Regions from separate parts of the Homo sapiens genome. Here region 2 is linked to region 1. Evidence: promoter capture Hi-C in 16 types of primary human blood cells and fetal thymus (Javierre and others, 2016). All regions are on one chromosome and are shown on one strand. Each heading gives the region's core, a stretch centred on a gene start or on the middle of the fragment in contact. The rest is flanking DNA. Distances are from core to core; before and after follow the strand shown. Region 1 holds the start of H4C4 (H4 clustered histone 4). Region 2 has its middle 5.2 kb from the start of TRY-GTA6-1.

The links. Contacts are between HindIII fragments. The CHiCAGO score rates a contact against its expected background, and 5 or more counts as called.
Region 2: a fragment that was not itself captured here is called in contact with the fragment with the promoter of H4C4 in region 1 in 7 of 17 cell types (neutrophils, total CD4 T cells, total B cells and 4 more); the score reaches 9.5 in neutrophils.

What each region holds. Positions count from the first base shown.
Region 1 is chr6:26,187,068-26,192,090 of GRCh38, forward strand. It overlaps H4C4 (H4 clustered histone 4), which reads right to left and starts at 2,045. Exons shown (of 1, transcript NM_003539.4): 1 at 1,643-2,045. The coding sequence starts at 2,009. The coding sequence ends at 1,698. RefSeq lists enhancers at 646-1,271, 2,054-2,233. The HindIII fragment of the contact is 9,357 bases long and covers 27-5,023 here.
Region 2 is chr6:26,586,907-26,592,470 of GRCh38, forward strand. No RefSeq gene overlaps it. Among named protein-coding and RNA genes, the nearest start is that of TRY-GTA6-1, 5.2 kb to the right of the region's middle. The HindIII fragment of the contact is 5,392 bases long and covers 1-4,157 here.

The DNA.
Region 1 (5,023 bases), core at 795-3,294:
CTTACAAAGAGACTCAACAATAAATAAGCTTAAAGACAGATATTTTTGTTTCATGGAACAAATCCATTGTGATTAGTCCAGCTTTGTGAAGCAGCTCTGCTCCTTGTGATCAATCAGGAAATTTCGTTCCTTCCAAGTCAATGTTCTGTCATCTCCTAGGGCCTGATGTTCTCTAATTGCTCAAAATGAAATCAATACCATTATACTTGGGGAAGAAGGTAACATGGAAGTTTCAAAGCCCAGACCTGGTAGTAACTTTTCTATGTGTCTCACCTGTGTTGGAAATAATGTAGCCACATGCTTACATCTGCTCCCAGAAAGACCAGGAAATGTTGTCTCTTGCTAGATAGCCACCTGTCCAGCTTTCTTTTTATTATGATAAAGTGAAAAAACTTTATTGGAAAAATAAGGGTTTACTCAATATTCTCCACAAATTAAAATCCATTTTGAGGACAGCGAATAATACAGTGGCATACTGATAGTCCTGCGATTGTAAGGACTGGAGTAACCCACTAGGGAATGGCTTACTTATTTTTGTCTCATTTCCTGAGGTGTAAAGGGAAAGAAGGTGGGAATTTAATCATGACAACCTCGGTTTTAAACACCCATTCATGCAACCACAGTAACCTGATCTATGATTTAAGGTAAAATGACTTCTGTTAATAATAAAGTCTAAGACTATTTAAGATAAAAGGACAACAAAAAAAGAACTCGTTCAACATACCTTTAAATTGGCCACGGGTACATAAATAAAAAGTCCTTTTAAATTCAACAATAGAAAATCAGTAGATCTGGATGGAAGGCAGCTCAGAGGAACAGAACCAAACAAGTTGGCCTCTCCCCATTCCACTAAAAAATGTTGAATCTTATGTACTTTCATGGTTGTTTCTCCCACGGTAATTACTACTTTCTTCTTTAAAGAATGTATTTGCCAGTCAAGTGCCTCCAACACACCTCCCATCCCCCCACACCAATAACCATCTGAATGCCATTTTGTCTTCCTTTCATATAACAATGCCTTGGTAGGAACTAGTAACTACCTCCATTTTTTTCACTATTCTTCACGGCAGCATCAGCCTTTACCACTTGCCTTCTGAGATACAGGTTTTGCTACCTTGTTTCTCCAGCAGCTACAGTCTTTGCTACCTTGTTTCTCTGATAGCCATGAAGAATGTTAGCAGCAGTTTGCCATGTTTCCTTACAGAAATACAGAAAACACAGGCCAAGCGTGGTGGCTCACGCCTGTAATCCCAGCACTTTCGGAGGCGGAGGAGGGAAATCTCTTTTGAGCTTGAGTTCAAGACCAGCCTGGGAAACATGGCGAAAACCCATCGCTGCAAAAAATACAAAGATTAGCCGGGTGTTGGTGGCGCAAGCCGGTTGCCCCAGCTACGCAAGAGGCTGAGGCACAAGAATCGTTTGAACCCGGGAGGCGGAGACTGCAGATTGCCGAGATCGCGCCATTGATTACTCCAGCATGGGCGACACAGCAAGAGTGAAAATAAACTTTAATACACTATCCTCACCGGCCAGTAAGATATGAAGCCAAGGCGTAATAAGACCATTTAACTTGAAAACCGGAGCTACTAAACACGTGAAACTACACTTTTAGCAGTGACTACTACTCTTTCTCCTGAGTGGATAGGTGGCCCTGAAAAGGGCCGTTGGTTTTGCGGTAGTGTACTGTAGAGGTAAGCTCAGCCGCCGAAGCCATAAAGAGTGCGTCCCTGGCGCTTGAGCGCGTACACCACGTCCATGGCTGTGACTGTCTTGCGTTTGGCGTGTTCCGTGTAGGTGACAGCATCGCGGATTACATTTTCCAGGAAAACTTTCAGCACTCCGCGAGTTTCCTCATAAATGAGGCCAGAAATACGCTTGACGCCGCCGCGGCGAGCCAGGCGGCGGATAGCGGGCTTGGTGATTCCTTGGATATTGTCACGCAATACCTTACGGTGACGCTTGGCGCCACCCTTACCTAGACCCTTTCCGCCCTTACCGCGGCCAGACATCTTGAAACCACAGCTGTTAAATCTGTAACGCAATACGTCTGGCAGAGCCACGCAGCACTTTTATAATAGCATGACGGACCTGTTTGAAAACCTCATGAGAAGGGGCGGGAACCACAGTCAGTTCCCGCCCTTCTGTGCAATTCTCCCTTGCTCAGACTGGAGGAGACCAAGAGGGGCCTGAGGCAACAAAAGAGCCTCAGCTGGGATTTAATAAATACTGCTAGGTATATATATATATATACACACACACTATACTTGCAGCCATTAACTGAGCCATCAGTTCATAAACTTTCGACAAAGAAGCCTGACAATTGTCCCCCACTTTTCCCAGAATATCAAATAATTAGTACTGTTTCCCTCACAGGGTGCTTTTTTTTTTTTTTTTTTTTTTTTTTTTTGAGACGGGTTCTTGCTCTGTTGCCCAGGCTGGAATGCAGTGGCACGATCTAGGCTCACTGCATCCTCTGCCTCCCGGATTCAAGCAATTCTCCTGCCTCAGCCTCCCGAGTAGCTGGGGTTACAGGCGCCCGCCACCATGCCCAGCTAATTTTGGTATTTTTTTAGTAGAGACGGGGTTTCACCATAGGCCAGGATGGTCTCGAACTCCTGACCTTGTGATCCACCTGCCTCGGCCTCCCAAAGTGCTAGGATTACAGGCGTGAGCCACCGCGCCGGGCCATAAGGTGCTTTCAAAGTATTTTAAGTAACTCATATCTTTATTGTCTCTGAGATTATTTTTATTGATTTATGCATTCCTAGTTAACCAAGCAGGGCTCTTTGGCATGCAGGCTAGATAGTGCTACTGAGGGAACTAAAAGTATATGAAAGTTACACATTTAGAGGTCAAATTAGGATAAGATCACCGAGGGCCGATTGAAAACATGACTATGTACACCCGTAAAAGAAAACCTTGTTGGGCTGAAATTTATGAAAATTTATGCTTTGATTGTGCCTTTAATCATGGACAGATTGTAGCTAGCACTGCATCATTCACCATATTCTATTACTCCAGCAAATTGGCATCATAGTATCCCTCCAAACTATCATAGAGACAGCCTGCTTGACATACATGCTGTGGGGGTGACCCTGGGCAAGCTATACTAAGTTTCCTTGTTGTAAATGTATTTTTAAAAATCTAACTTGTAAGTATTTGTTAAGTTGAAACAGATAATCCTATCAAAATGCTTAGAATAGTGTCTAGATTCCAAATAAGCAATGACTAAACATTAATTATGGTATAGTACAATATTGTGGGTGTTTTCAATTCCTATCCTTAAGGTTCACCCTTCTAAAGGGATGAGAGACAGTATTCTAATTTGCTAAAATCTGATTTCGAGAACTCCTCAAAATAATAAATAATTAAAAACTTAACTCATCATTAATCCCCATAAAAAGTTCCAGGTCCTTTGGGTGGAATATTTGGCTTTTCCTTCATGACTTGTGAGAAGAACCAAGTTTATCACAGCTGTTTGCTGTTTATTGAGTTTATGGTACATGGAAAAGATTGCAGAGTAAGGTTCTTAGCCTGGGATACATAGAAAGTCTTCAGGGGATCTGGGAATGAGTATAGAAAAAAAAAAAGTCAAATCTTTTTTTTTTCTTTTTACTATTCTCCAACAGAAACAGCATTTTTTCTGTGTATGAACTCAGGCAACAAACAGTGTAATTGGCAGGACAAGTGCTTCTATTTATATCACATTCTCATTGCCAATATCTCGAAATTTCATTTAAAAATCTCAATCCTAAAGCCGGGTGCAGTGGCTCACGCCTGTAATCCCAGCACTTTGGGAGGCAAAGGCGGGAGGATCACGAGGTCAGGAGATGGAGACAATCCTGGCTAACACAGTGAAACCCCATCTCTACTAAAAATACAAAAAAATTAGCCGGACATGGTGGCGGGCACCTGTAGTCCCAGCTACTCAGGAGGTTGAGACAGGAGAATGGCGTGAACCTGGGAGGTGGAACTTGCAGTGAGCAGAGATCGTGCCACTGCACTCCAGCCTGGGCAAAACAGCAAGACTCCATCTCAAAAAAAAAACAAAAAAACAAAAAAAAACCTCAATCCTTCAAAACTATAATAAGTCTTAGTCATATGGGTAGATTATTATTTAATGTATTAATTTAAAAAGGACATATGCCAGGCCATGGCTTATGCCTGTAACTCCCAGCTCTTTGAAAGGCCCAGATGGGAGGATCACTTGAGGCCAGGAGTTCCAGACCAGTCTAGCCAACATGGCAAAACCATGTCTCTACTAAAAATGCAAAAATTTATCAGGCATGGTGGCGCACAGCTACTTGGGTAGCTAATCGCTTGAACCTGAGAAGCAGAGGATGCACTGAGCCAAGATCGTACCATTGCACTCCAGCCTGGGCAACAGTGAGACTCTGTCTCAAAATCAGTAAGTAAATAAAATAAAAAATTTAAAAGCACATATGTTAATATTTCACCAATTTAGATTTTTTATAATTTGATAATGGCATACTAATATAATTGTTTCACTTTGCATTCCTATATATTATCTAATGCATTTAAAACCACTATTCTGCGCGGGGCATGGTGGCTCATGCCTGTCATCCCAGCACTTTGGGAGGCCGAGGTGGGTGGATCACCTGAGGTCAAGAGGTCGAGACCAGCCTGGCAACGTGGTGAAACCGCGTCTCTACTAAAAATACAAAAATTAGCTGGGAATGGTGGTGCATACCTGTAATCCCAGCTACTTGGGAGACTGAGGCAAGAGAATTGCTTGAACCTGGGAGGCAGAAGTTATAGTGAGACAAGATTAAGTCACTGTAATCCAGCCTGGGTGACGAGTGAAATTCCATCTCAAAAATAAATAAATAAATAAATATTATTCTGGCCGGGTGCGGTGGCTCACGCCTGTAATCCTAGCACTTTGGGAAGCCAAGGCTGGTGGATCACTTGAGCCCAGTTCAAGAGCAGCCTGGGTAACATGGAGAAACCCTGACACTACTAAAAATACAAACATTAGCTGGGCATGGTGGCATGCTCTTGT
Region 2 (5,564 bases), core at 212-2,711, 400 kb after region 1:
CGAACTCCTGACCTCAGGTGATCTTCCCACATCTGCCTCGCAAAGTGGTGGGATTGCAGGTGTGAGCCACCATGCCTGGCCTAAGCAGTGTCTTTTATAAAGCAAACATTTAAATTTGATTAAGTCTAATTTATTAATTTATATTTTTATAGCTTTTTTTGTGTGTGTGTTCCTTTAAAGAATTTTTTGCCTAACCAAAGGTCATACAAATTTTCTTCTAGAAGTTTTACAATTTTATGATAAAGTTTTAATTATTAAATATGTTGCTGATGTGGGGCCATAGATTTTTTTAAATACATGAATGTCCAATTGTACCCGTACCAATTACTGAACGCCTATCCTTTTTCCATTGAATTATTTTGACAGCTTTCTCAAAAATCAATTGTCAATATGTATGTGAGTCTGCTTCCTGGCTCTCTAGTTTGTCCCATTGATCTGCAGGCCTATCCTTACACCAACACCATTTTGTCTTGATTACTTAATTTTTAAATAAATCTTGAAAACTTAACAGTGTATGTCCTCCAACTTTGTAATTCTTATTTAAGATGGCTGTTGTTATTCTGAGTTATTTGTGTTCCAAGTTAATTTTGTAAAATAATCTGGACCATTTTTACAAAAAAAAAAACAACCCACTGGGATTTTTATTGGGATTGTGTTGAATCCATAAATTAACCGGAGGGACTTGGCAGCTCCACAGTATCAAATCTTCTGATCCATAAATATGTTATATCTCTCATTTATTTGGTTCTGAGTGATTTATTTATTTATTTATTTATTATATTTTTGAGACAGAGTTTCCCTCTGTCTCCCAGGCTGGAGTGCAGTGGCAACATCTCCGCTCACTGCAACCTCGGCTTCCCGGGTTCAAGCGATTCTCCCGCCTCAGCCTACCGAGTAGCTGGAATTACAGGCGTGCGCCACCACGCCCGGCTAATTTTTGTATTTTTAGTAGAGACAGGGTTTCTTAGTCATACAGTAAGTTGATGCAAAAGTAATTGCCGTTTTGCCAGTAGAAAACGGCAAAAAGTAATTGCGGTTGTTCCCATCTTTTACTGGCAAAACCGCAATTACTTTTGCACCAACCTATAAAGTACAACTTATAAAGTATTTTGTTTACTTTATAAGTCAGGGTTTTGTACAAGTAAAACTTTCAAAGTGTGCATTTAAAATTTTTTTTAAAAAAATTGACAGCAGTCTGTAAGTGTTGAGAAGAAAGTGCACATTTTAGCAAGTTCAGGCAAATGTATGCTGGAAGTAACCAACACAAATACAAAGATAAATACATATCCTTTGCTTCCCAAAACTGTCTCATGCCCTTTTACAGTCGATTGCTGCTATCCATTCTCAGCCCCTGACAACCCAGGCTGGAGTGCAATGGCGCGATCTCGGCTCACTGCAACCTCCATCTCCTGGGTTCAAGCGATTCTCCTGCCTCAGCCTTCCGAGCCTCAGCCTCCCGAGTAGCTGGGATTACAGGTATGTGCCACCACGCCCGGCTAATTTTTTATTTTTAGTAGAGATGGGATTTCACCATGTTGGTCAGGCAGGTCTCGAACTCCTGACCTCAGGTGATCTGCCCGCCTCGGCCTCCCAAAGTGCTGCGATTACAGGCGTGAGCCACCGCGCCCGGCCTGATTTTGGTTTTTATACTTTTGTCTTTTCTCTAACTGTATAAATGAAATAATTTGGGACCAGGCACCGTGGCTCATGCCTGTAATCCCAGCACTTGGGGAGGCCGGGGCGGGTGGATCACTTGAGGTCAGGAGTTGGAGACCAGCCTGGGGAACAAGGCGAAAACCCGCCTCTACAAAAATTAGCGGGGCGTGGTGGCACGTGCCTGTAGCCTCAGCTACTCGGGAGGCTGAGGTTGGAGGATAACTTGAACCCGGGAGGCGGAGGTTGCTATGAGCCGAGATCCCACCACTGCACTCTTTAGAGCCTGGGTGACAGAGTTGAGACCCTGTCTAAATAATAATAATAATAAATTGAATGTATCCCTTTGTAATTCCCTGTTGTTGTTGTTGTTGTTGTTGTTGTTGTTGAGACAAGAGTTTTGCTCTGTCACCCAGGCTAGAGTGCAGTGGCGCGATCTTGGCTCACTGCAGTCTCTGCCTCCCGGGTTCAAGCGATCCTCCTGCCTCAGCCTCCCAAGTAGCTAGGGTTACAGGCTCCCGCTACCGCGTCCGGTTAATTTTTGTATTTTTAATAAAGACGGTGTTTCACCATGTTGGCCAGGCTGGTATCGAATTCCCGATCTCAGGTGATCCGCTCTCCTTAGCCTTCCGAAGTATTGGGATTACAGGCGTGAGCCACACCGCCCAGTCAATGATTGACTTTCTTTATATAACATAATGCTTTAAGATTTATCAATGTGGTGGCCTTTTTGGAGGCCGAGGCAGGCGGATCACCCGAGGTCAGGAGTTGGAGGCCGGCCTGCCCAACGTGGCGAAACCCCCTCTCTACTAAAAATACAAAAAATTAGCCGGGCGTGGTGGCGGGCACCTGTAATCCCAGCTACTCGGGAGGCTGAGGCAGGAGAATCGCTTGAACCCGGGAGGCAGAGGTTGCAGTGAGCCGAGATTGCGCCACTACACTCCAGCCTGGGTGATAAGAGCGAAATTCTGTCTTAAAAAAAAAAATTATCAATGTGGCATATATTAGTAGTTAATTCCTTTTATTGCTGAGCAGTATTCCATTATGTGGATTTACTACAACTTATCCATTCACCAGCTGATAGATACTTGGATGTTTCTAGTTTTTGGCAGTTATGCATAAAGCTACTATAAATATTCATGTAGTGTTATGGCAAATATATGTATAACTTCATTTTTAAAAACTGACAGTGTTTTTCAAGGTGGACCAGTTTGTATTCCCACCAGCAATATATAAGAATTTCAGTTATTTCACATCATCATCGGCGCTCGGCACTGTTAATTTCTCACCTTTTTTTTTTTTAACTTCAGCTATTCTCTTAGGTGTGTAAAGTATCTCATTGTGGCTTTAATTTGCATCTGCCTAATGAATAGTGATGTTACATATCTTATTATGCTTATTGGCCATCAGTACAGCTTCTTTTGTAAAATATCTGTCCAAATCATTTGTCCATTTAAAAAAGGGTATTGTCTGGTCTTATTATTGAGTTGCAAGAGTATGTTATTGTTCTGGTTATAAGTCCTGCATCAGGGAAGTGTTTTCCAAGTATCTTTTTCTAAACTGTGACTTTTTTTTTTTTTTTTTTTTTGGTAGAGAGGGGATTTCGCTGTGTTACCCAGGCTGATCTTGAACTCCTGGACTCAAGCAATCTGCCGGCCTCAGCCTTCCAAAGTGCTGGGATTACAGGCTTGAGCTACCATGCCTGGCCTGACTTGTCTTTTCTTAACAGTATCTTTTGAAGCGCAGATTTTTTGTTAAACTTTGATGAAATTCAACTTATTTTTTCCTTTATGGTTTATGCTTTTGTGTCCCATTTAAAATCTTTTTGCTTAACCTAAAGTCACAAAGAGTTCCTTCTACGTTTTCTTCTAGAGGTTTTGTTGTTCTAGTCCTTGCATTTAAGTCTTTGATTAATTTTGAATTAATGTTTGTACATTGTGTGATATAAGGGTCTAAGTTCACTTATTAGCACATGGATATTCAGGTTTTTTAGCATCATTTTGCAAAGATTATCGTTTTCCTGTAGAATTACCTTGGCACCTCTGTCAAAAATCAATTAATCATAATCATGTAAGTTTATCTCTAGACTCTATGTAGCTTTGTTGTAAGTCTTGAAATCAGGTAGTGTTCTTCCAACTTTGTTCTTCAAAATTAGTTTGGATATTTTGCATCTTTTGACTGTCTGTATACATTTTATACATTTTATATTTGGCTTGCCAATTTCTAAAAAAAATCATTGAGATTTTGATAGTCATGGCATTAAATGTATCAGTCAATTTGAAAGATGTGGAATTGATATCTGAAAATTGTTTAAATTTTCTGTTCTGGAAACAATGCATTGCTTTCATTGCATCTTGGTAAATTTATCTCTAAATGTTTCATATTTTTTATACTATTTCAAATGGTATTTTGTATTTCAATTTCTAACTATTTATTGTTAACAAATACAATCTATTAATAAATAGAATTACAATTTATTATATTTGTGTCCTGCAGTTTTGGTAAGCTTACTCATTAGTTGTAGTAGCTTTGTAGAAGTTTCCTCAGTATTTTCTCGTAGACAATAATGTTACATGCAAATAAAGATAGTCTCACTTTTTCCTTTTAATCTGTATTTTTTTCTTTCTCTTGTGTTATTGCACTGGCTAGAATCTCTAGGATAATGCTGAATAGAAGTTGTGAGAGTGGACATCCTTGCTCTGGACCTGATGTTAGGGCCAAAACATTTGAGTTTTTCATCACTAAATATATTAGCTGTTGAATTCTTAAATATGTCTTTTATACTTTGCAGAAATTCTAACAAATGTATCTGAATTTTGTCAATTGCTTTTTTCTACACCTACTGGAATAATCATATGGCTTTTCCTGTTTAGTCTGATAATAAAGTAATTACACTGATTACATTGATTTCAAAATTAAATTCTAAGCTACACTTTTCTTTTCTTCTTTAATTCTTTGAAAGTTACTCTTCCCATTTTTTAGATTAAGGTACAATTCACATACAGTAATGTCATCAGTTTTAATGTACATTCTCCTTAGTGTAGCAAATTTTGTCAAATATAGACAGTCGTGTTATCACCATTACAATCAAGATATGGAATAATAATATCACTCTACCCCCAAATTTCTGCATGTTTCTTCTTCTTTTCCTCCTCCTTCTTCTTCTTCTCCTTCTCCTTCTTCTTCTTCTTTTTTTTTTTTTTTTAATAGACAGGGTCATGCTCTGTTACCCAGGCTGGAGTGCAGTTCTTCCATCATAGCTTACTGCAGGCTGGAACTCCTGGGCTCAAGCCATTACAGGCATGACACCAGGCCTAGCCTCCCAGGAGGAAAGAAGAAAGAAGTTGTTTCTTCTTCTTCTTTCTTCCTTCTTTCTTTCTCCTCCTCTTCCTCCTCCTCCTCTCCTTCTCCTTCTTCTTCCTCTTCTTCTTTTTCTATTTTGTTCTTACTGAATCACTATGTTTCTTTTATACTTAATTTCTCCCCTATCTTCTACCCCAGTAGCAACTAAGGATATTTTCTGTCCCTATAGCTTTGCCCTTGCAAGAATTTCATAGGAATAATATAGTATGTAGCATTTTGTATCTGGCTTTGTAAATTCAGCATAATGCAGATGAGTTTCATCCCTGTTGTTACGTTTACCAATAGTTTGTTCCTTTTTATTCCATAGGAATATTATAGTGGTCTGTAAGCTTCAAGAGAAGTTAAAACCATCTAGGTAGGACTCAATTCGCAAGTTGAAAAGGTGCTAAAACAATAGAGAAGCTACAGGGTGAGATTGTAATCAAGTGATGATGATACATTTCCAAGAATTATTTCAGATAGTTAGATTTAGCCATAAACCCATTTTGAACTTGTGTCTGCAACAAGAGGGAATAAATAGAATGGCCGTTCTGACACCAGATTCTGTA